Linked DNA regions of Homo sapiens: all the other regions are linked to region 2. The links are contacts of gene promoters, found by promoter capture Hi-C in blood cells and fetal thymus (Javierre and others, 2016). All regions are on one chromosome and are shown on one strand. The core of a region is centred on a gene start or on the middle of the fragment in contact, and the rest is flanking DNA. Distances in the headings are between cores, read along the strand shown.

Evidence for each region. Contacts are between HindIII fragments. The CHiCAGO score rates a contact against its expected background, and 5 or more counts as called.
Region 1: a fragment that was not itself captured here is called in contact with the fragment with the promoter of ADNP2 in region 2 in 1 of 17 cell types (naive B cells); the score reaches 5.5 in naive B cells.
Region 3: a fragment that was not itself captured here is called in contact with the fragment with the promoter of ADNP2 in region 2 in 1 of 17 cell types (naive CD8 T cells); the score reaches 6.0 in naive CD8 T cells.

Annotation. Positions count from the first base shown.
Region 1 is chr18:165,142-167,841 of GRCh38, forward strand. USP14 (ubiquitin specific peptidase 14) reads left to right here. Exons shown (of 16, transcript NM_005151.4): 3 at 1,646-1,678. Among named protein-coding and RNA genes, the nearest start is that of USP14, 7.9 kb to the left of the region's middle. The HindIII fragment of the contact is 966 bases long and covers 963-1,928 here.
Region 2 is chr18:80,107,914-80,110,640 of GRCh38, forward strand. It overlaps ADNP2 (ADNP homeobox 2), which reads left to right and starts at 1,349. Exons shown (of 4, transcript NM_014913.4): 1 at 1,349-1,559. RefSeq lists enhancers at 1-273, 1,100-1,601 and silencers at 1,411-1,570, 1,771-1,870. The HindIII fragment of the contact is 4,212 bases long and covers 1-2,068 here.
Region 3 is chr18:147,669-150,372 of GRCh38, forward strand. No RefSeq gene overlaps it. Among named protein-coding and RNA genes, the nearest start is that of USP14, 9.5 kb to the right of the region's middle. The HindIII fragment of the contact is 5,883 bases long and covers 1-2,704 here.

The sequences.
Region 1 (2,700 bases), core at 196-2,695, about 80 Mb before region 2:
TTTCACCATGTTGGCGCTGGTCTCGAACTCCTGACCTCAAGTGATATGCCTGCCTCGGGCCTCCCAAAGTGCTGGGATTACAGGCGTGAGCCACCACACCCGGCCTCTATTATTTTTAATAATATAAGTATAGCTTTAAAAAATACTTCCTTCAAGGGTTAGATAAAATGCTAAAGATCTATAGTTAACTTTAGAGATAAAGACAGGCTACCCCCACTGGGCAGTAAAACACACGTTGGAGGAAAATCTTTGTTTACCCCCGAAGGTACAGTATGAACCTTTGGCCTTTAGTGAACTTCATAGCCTAATCTATGCTGAACACTGTACTAGTGGTATGCTGTCGAGAATTATAGAAGTATGCGAATTAAATGAAACTGTGACTGCTAATGGTTACCATTTATTGAGTACTTATTTTATGTCAGGCTTTTATTATATTTTCTTTAATTCTCAGCTGTATGTTATCCATATCTTATATATGAGGAAATTTTATAAATGAGTGTCAAAGAGGTTTAAGTAACATAGTAAGGCACCAAAAGAGCATATGATTTATACATCAAGCAGATCTGTGTTCACTTCCCAGTTTTGTGTGACCTTGGGTAAGTGATCTTAGGGGGCATTTATAGTTATCATTCATTATGTTTAGCAGTCATAGACCTTAAATTGAGAAGGGCCTTTAGGAAGTTACCGTTCCATTTTAAAGCAGATAAAAGAGATAATTAGTGGCACCAATGAAGGGTAGACAAGCATATTGGGTACCCGATACCTTCTATAAAAGGGAGTAATATAGAATCGACTTTATCCTATGAGGGGAAAGGCCTAGCTGTAGTTAGTAAAAATATTACTCTGGACTAATCATGCATTTAAAAAAAAAATTCTTGATTTTTATTCAACATATTGAAAGGAAAGTATATACTTGCTTTATAGATGCGTTATAGACATTAACTCTTCATTCTTGCCACGTAAGCTTGTTATTTATTAGCTCTGCTGGTTCCAAACATCCAAAAAATAGGATCTATCATTTGTCATTAGTCAAGTGTTTTTTAGTACTTGCTAAAAGTATTTTTTTATACTTATGTGTTTTTTAGTATTTGATGCTGTAAATACAGGTTACTGCCTTTTGTATTGTGTTACCTTATGCAGTTGAAGCAAATTATTTGAAACCCTGGCTTTAGTACCACTTGTGTTTAAAAAAAATTTTTGTTTTTTTTTGAGATGGAGCCTTGTTCTGTTGCCCAGGCTGGAGTGCAGTGGTGAGATCTCGGCTCACTGTAACCTCTGCCTCCTGGGTTCAAGCAATTATCTTGTCTCAGCCTCCCGAGTAGCTGGAATTACAGGTGTGCACCACCATGCTCAGCTACTTTTTGTATTTTTAGTAGAGATGGAGTTTCTTTATATTGGTCCGGCTGGTTTCGAACTCCTGACCGCAGGTGATTTGCCTGCCTCAGCCTCCCAAAGTGCTGGGATTACAGGCGTGAGCCACTGTGCCTGGCCAAAAAAAATTTTTTTAATTGCCATAATTTTAAATAAAATCTGCATATAGGATAAATTTTATTCTGTTTTGAAGTACATTAAAATAAATTGATTATTAGATTGTGTTCAGCTTGTACAGTGGTGGTTAAATGTCTTTTGTTTGTCTTTGAAACAGGATGATGATTGGGGAAACATCAAAATAAAAAATGTAAGTATTATCTTATGAACGTTTATTATAATGCAGTAACCTCATTATGATACCAAAATACATTCCAGATGACTTTTTTTCATGTGTATATCCAGTTGTTCCAGCACTATCTGTTGAAAATACTTACCTTTTCCCATTGACTTGTGTTGGGCTCTTTCTTGAAAAGTAGTTATAGGTTTGTTTTTGGGTTTTTGTTTCATTGATCTAGTAGATTAAAGTTACACTAGTACCAAATGGTTTTGATTACTAAAGCTTTATAATAAAAGCCTTGAAAAAAAAATTAGCTGGGTGTGGTGGTGCACGCCTGTAATCCTAGCTACTCGGGAGGCTGAGGTGGGAGGCTGAGGCGGGAGGCAGAGGCAGGAGGCAGGAGAATCACTTGAACCTGGGAGGCGGAGATTGCAGTGAGCCGAGATCGTGCCACTGCACTCCAGCCTGGCAACAGAGCGAGACTCCGTCTCCAAAAAAAGAGTCTTGAAATAAGATAGTATATGTTCTTATGCTCTCCAACTTTCTCCTCTTTGAGATTTTGTTTGAGATTACATTGAATCTGTAGCTCAATTTGGGGAGAATAAACATCTTAACAATATTGAGTATTAAAATCCCTGAATATGATGTACTTCCTTATTTATTTAGGTCTCTGTTTTTCTCTTAGCAGAGTTGTAGTTTTTAAACATAGAGGTTTTGCATGAGTGGTTTTTTTTTTGAGACAGGGTCTCACTCTCACGTATGCCGGAGCACAGTGGCATGGTCATGGCTCGCTGCAGCTTTAAACTCCCAGCCTCAAGCAGTCCTTCCATCTCAGCCTTCCAAGTAGCTGGGACCACAGGCGGGTGTTACCATGCCCAGTTAATTAATTAATTTTAATTATTTTTTGTAGAGATGGGGGTGTCACTATGTTGCCCAGGCTGGTCTTGAACTCCAGGGCTCAAGCGATCCTCCTGCCTTGGCCTCCCAAAGTGCTGGGATTAACAGGTGTGAGTCACTGTGCCCAGCCCTTGCATGACTTCTCTTAAATTATT
Region 2 (2,727 bases), core at 99-2,598:
TGACTTGTATTCATGTAGGAAAAAAGCAAATTTTGGTCAGGTCATATCGGCCCACCATTTAACACAGTTTTAAAACGAATATGGACATTAATTTAGTGCCTATTATGTGTTTAGTCACTGGGCTAAACTGAGCAGAAGGCTCCCATTGAGAGGGAAAAGCTGAAATTATGGACGAGCGGATGGTGACAAGGAGGCTCTGGAGAGGGCGGTGGGCGGAAGGCCCAGCCTGGGCACGGCCTCTGCCCCGCGGTGGCTGGAGTGGGCCTCAGGGCTGGAGGCTGGCGGCGGGTTGCAGGGGCTCGGCGCTCTGGAAGGAGACGTGGCCTTGTGCTGAAAGGGGCACGTGTCCTGCAGACGGCTTCGCCAAGAAGGAACTGCCTGGAACAGCCACTGAGGGCGCGGCTGAGTTAGGGTCAGGGGAAGGAACACTGGAGGGGAGTTAGGGTCAGAGTCAGGGTTAGTGCTAGGTGAGGTTCAGGTGCAGGGTCAGAATTAGGGTTAAGGTTAGGGGCACTGGGGGAGGCGCCTGCGCTGCCCTCGTGGTTACTCCCACGTGCTCTGGGGCACGAGGGCGTCCGCCAGAGGCCTGGGGACTCCACGGAACGAAGACCTAGAGCCATTTTGAAAGCCCTACGCCATGTTTCCACTAATTTTGTGGAATAAATTATTATTGCTACACAATTGATAAACACCTGTGCAAAAATGAACTTTTAGGTTAAGAGTTTATACAAATGTATGCAATTAACCCTCTCCCCACACAACTTGTAGTAGATCTAAAAATCAGAATTCTCAAGAGAAGGTGTGATCACTTTCCCACAGGAATGATGAAGTCAGGAGACCCCAGCTAGTCGGTTCACCAGGATATGCCAATCATGGCACACTTGTCCCAGTTCTGGGAGCCAAAGTTTTGTCTTCCAATGGCAAGGCAGCATTATCACAGTTGGGCTCCCATTGGCTCTGAGATGTGGGCGGGGTCACCACTCCTGGAGCTGCCACTAGCTCCACCCCATTCCATGCAAATGAAGTCAAAGCTGTGGTGAGTCCACGTGATTAGTCACATGGTTGATGACACACTCTCCCCACCCCTTTAGTGACGTCATTGCCCACTCAAACTCTCACGAGAGTTTGCACAGATGTGGAAAGGAGCTGGCAGGGCAGTTCCCTGGGACAGAAGGGAGTCAGGGGGTCCAACAGGGGCCCCCCACTGCCACCCCAGAGCCTCCAGTCCATCTTTAGCCAGGGGCCCCGGGGGGCCTGTGGGAAGTGCCAGGGGCCCCCAAGCACACTCTGCTCTCATTGGCTGGCTGCGCCTACATGCAAATGAGGGCCAACGTCACTTCCTGAGGCCAATCGAGCGCCATTTTCTCTTTCTGGCTGCGCGGGAGGAGGGGACCAGTCGCGCTGGGGGTGGGCGCGCGCTGAGGCGGGGGTCCCGCCGCGCGGGGCGGAGGCGCGGGCGGGCGCAGGCGGCCCCACGGGACGCGGCTGCGCTCGGCGGAAGACGCGGCAGCCCTGCGAGAGGCAGCAGCGGAGACGCGGTGCTCCTCGGGCGCCAAGCGGTAGGTACGGCCCGGCCCGGCGCGGGCCCGCGCGGCGACGCCCCCTGCCCCGGTCCTGGCCCCCGCCCCAGTCTGGTCCCCTCCGAGCCCCGCCCCCGCCGGTACCCAGCCCACACCCACGCCCGCCGCCTGCCCTCGCGCCGCCCGTGGCCGCCTCGGGAATCCCGGGACGTTCTCAGGGCGCGGGTTCGCGGCCCGAACGGCGCCCGTCGACCCCCGACGCGCCCGCGGCCCGCCCCGCCCGCCGCCGGTCACGTGGGAGCGGGGGCCGCCCCGGGAGGGCGGAGAAGGGGATGGGGACCTGAGGGGAGAGTAGGAATAGGGGAAAGACGAGGACGGGGACCGAGGGAGAGAGGGGGGCTGGTGAAGGGAGCGAGGAGTAGAGGGAGAGGGAACGGGGATGGAGAAGAAGAGAGGGGGCAAGGAGCTGTGGCGACCCCTGTAAGGACTCCAGAAACGCCCCGCCCGCTGGCCCGCCCGCCGCATCCCCGAGACCGGGTTCTCCTGGAAGCTTCTCTCTGGAGGAGCCTTGAGTGACGGCAGATGTAGGTCAGGAGCTGACGGTGACACCTAAATCTGCCCAGGTTTTTTTTTCCCTAGAAAGGTTTGAAGAACAGCTGATAACGGGGCCCTGTTTCTTCATCGTTGAGCTTTTGATGCGAATATCAATAATTGATATACAGATGTTGACTTTAACATTACTTTTCATCTGCCGTTGCTGGTTGCATTGAAATAGATTCCGTTTACAAAATTTCTACTACAGTTGACTTTGGAATGTTAATTTTAACTGCCCTTTTAAATACTGTACAGATGCAGAATGAGAAATAATTAGATATTTTAAGTAGTTTATTTGAACAGAAGACTTGCCTGCGTGCTTAAAACTTACTCTATTTGCACGGGTAATCACTGCCTCTTGGGATCTTGAGGAATATACTGGCTGTGGAGGAGTGGGGTGGGGGAGGAGAAACTGGTAAGCAGGTAACTGACAATGCAGATTGGCAAGTGGGGCAGCAGTTTGTAGAGTACTGTGGGCATCTGCCACGCAGAGCCTTTATCAAAAGAGGGGGTTTGGAGTCTGGGTACCATTTTTGGGGGTGAGGAGCATTAGTGGGAGAGAGGACCACATGTAAAAAGAGTTGTGTAAAGTACATGTTCAGCTGTATTTGGA
Region 3 (2,704 bases), core at 27-2,526, about 80 Mb before region 2:
TGGGTGTGGTGGTGCACACCTATAGTCCCAGGTACTCAAGAGGCTGAAGTGGAAGGATCACCCGAGCCCAGAAGGTCAAGGCTGCAGTGAGCTGTGATCACGCTCGGCAAGAAAGTGAGACCCTGTCTCAAAAAAAAAAAAAAAAAGAAAGAAAAAAAAAGTAAAAGTAACCAACAAAATAACTACAACCTAATTATTAAAAATTGGGAACCAGGCATGGTAGCTCATACCTATAATCCTAGCACTTTGGAAGGATGAAACAGGCAGATCATTTGGATCAGGAGTTCAAGACCAGCCTGGGCAACATAGTTAGATCCCCTCTCTACAAAAAGTGAAAATAAAAAAATTAGCTGGACATGATGGCACGTGCCTGAGGTCCCAGCTACTTGGGAAGCTGAGGCAGGAGGATCACTTAAGCCCAGGAGTTCAAGCCTGTGGTGATCCAGGATCCGGCCACTGCACTCCAGCCTAGGTGACAGAGTGAGACCCTGTCTCTAACCAAAAAATAAAATAAAATAAAATTGAGAAGAAAGAGGAAGAAGGGGAGGCAAAATACAGCATAACTGACCCACATCCTCATTGTTTACACTGGGGTTCAACAGATATTGCTTACACTTGATAAATTAAATAGAGTTATAAGCATATTATTCAGAATTATAGAGGTGACCACCAGGAGAGCTAAAATCAGAAAGAGTTAAAGTCAGTTGCTGATGAGAAGTGAGATTGTAGGTGGAATGAGATAGGAGAGTTTTGTTTTACTTTAAATGTTTTCCTGTTACTGTTTGAATTTTAAACCTCGTATGGGTATTGCTTTACTAATTTTTTAAAAAGTAGGTAACATTAAAGGGGTCTTTCTGCCTTAACTCATGGGGAGCCCTATGTAAGGCTTTTTGATTCAGGTTAGGGCTTTGCTTTGGAATAAGAGATCATCTGCAACAGTTGAGTACACAGACTTTTTTTTTTTTTTGAGAAAGGGTCTCACTTTGTTGCCCAGGCTGGAGTGCAGCAGCACAGTCTCAGTTCACTGTAACCTCCGCCTCCTGGGTTCAAGCGATTTTCCTGCCTCAGCCTCCCTAGTAGCTGGGACTACAGGCCAGCGCCACAACGCTGGCTAATTTTTGTATGTTTAGTAGAGAGAGGGTTTCACCATGTTGGCCAGGCTGGTCTCGAACTCCTGACCTCAAGTGATTCACCCGCCTTGGCTTCCCAAAGTGCTGGGATTGCAGGCATGAGCCACTGCACCCGGTCTACACGGACATTTCAATATTATTTTTCTTCTTTGTGAGGAATAGTAATTTTAAGAAGATAGAAAACCCCACCTAATTGAGACTAGTCTTTTAATCCTGGCACTCAGGCTCTCGTAATCTTGTCCCATATTGCCAGCTACCTTATCTATTACCACAGCCCCACATAGAGGTCCTCCATTCTGCTCTAGTTTCCCTTCTACCACCCACATGCATAGTTGCTATATATTTTAATAATTTTTTCTACTTTTCTACATTTTTTTTTTTTTGAGACAGGGTCTCGCTCTGTCACCCAGGCTGGAGGGCAGCGGCATGATCTTGACTCACTGCAACCTCTGCCTCCCGGGCTCAAGCAATTCTCCCACCTCAGCCCTCAACTAGCTGGGACCATAGGCGTGTGCCACCATGCCCAGCTAGTTTTTGTATTTTTTGTAGAGATGTGGTTTCACCATGTTGCCCAGGCTGGTTTCGAAGTCCTCGGCTCCAGTGATCCTCCCGCCTCAGCCTCCAAAAGTGCTGGGATTACAGGCGTGAGCCACCGCACTCAGCAATTGTTTTCTACATTTTCTGATAGACTGTGAATTCCTGGAATGCCGGGTCCCTAAGTAGACAGTCAATAAATAATTGTTGAATTGATGAATTTGATTGCTTTGGGATTTTGCTTTTTTTTGAGACAGCGTCTTGCTCTGTCACCCAGGCTGGAGTACAGTGGTGCAGTCACAACCCACTGCAGCTTTAACCTCCCGGGCTTCATCTATCCTCCCACTTCAGCCTCCAGAGTAGCTGCAACTACAGGTGTGCACCACCAAACCCAGCTAATTTTTTATTTTTTGTAAAGACGGGGCTTTCCCATGTTGGCCAGGCTTGTATTGTGCTTCTGGGCTCAACTGATCCACCGCAGCCTCTCAAAGTGCTAGGATTACAGGTGTGAGCCACTTTCTTCTCCTCCTCCTCCTTCTTCTCCTCCTCCTCCTTCTTCTTTTTTTTTTTTTTTGTTTTTTGTTTTTTGTTTTTACAGAGTCTTGCTCTGTCTCCAGGCTGGAGTGCAGTGGTCCGATCTTGGCTCACTGCAACCTCTGCCTCCTGGGCTCAAGCAGTTCTCCCACTTCAGCCTCCTGAGTAGCTGGGACTACAGGCACCCGCCACCACACTTGACTACTTTTTTGTAATTTTGTAGAGATAGAGTTTTGTCACGTTGCCCAGGCTGGTCTTCAATTCCTGAGCTCAAGCAATTCACCTGCATTGGCCTCCCAAAGTGCTGGGATTATAGGTGTGAACCACTGTGCCCAGCCAGGTTTTGCTTTTTCTATATTTCTCTAGAACCTTCCTGCCCCCAACTGCTTCCCACCCCCTTCAATTTCTTTATTCTCTGAATTCCTATTACCAATAACCTCAACCCATTCATTCACCAAATATATAGAATGCCTACTCCATGCCGGGTCTGTGCCAGGCCTAGGAGA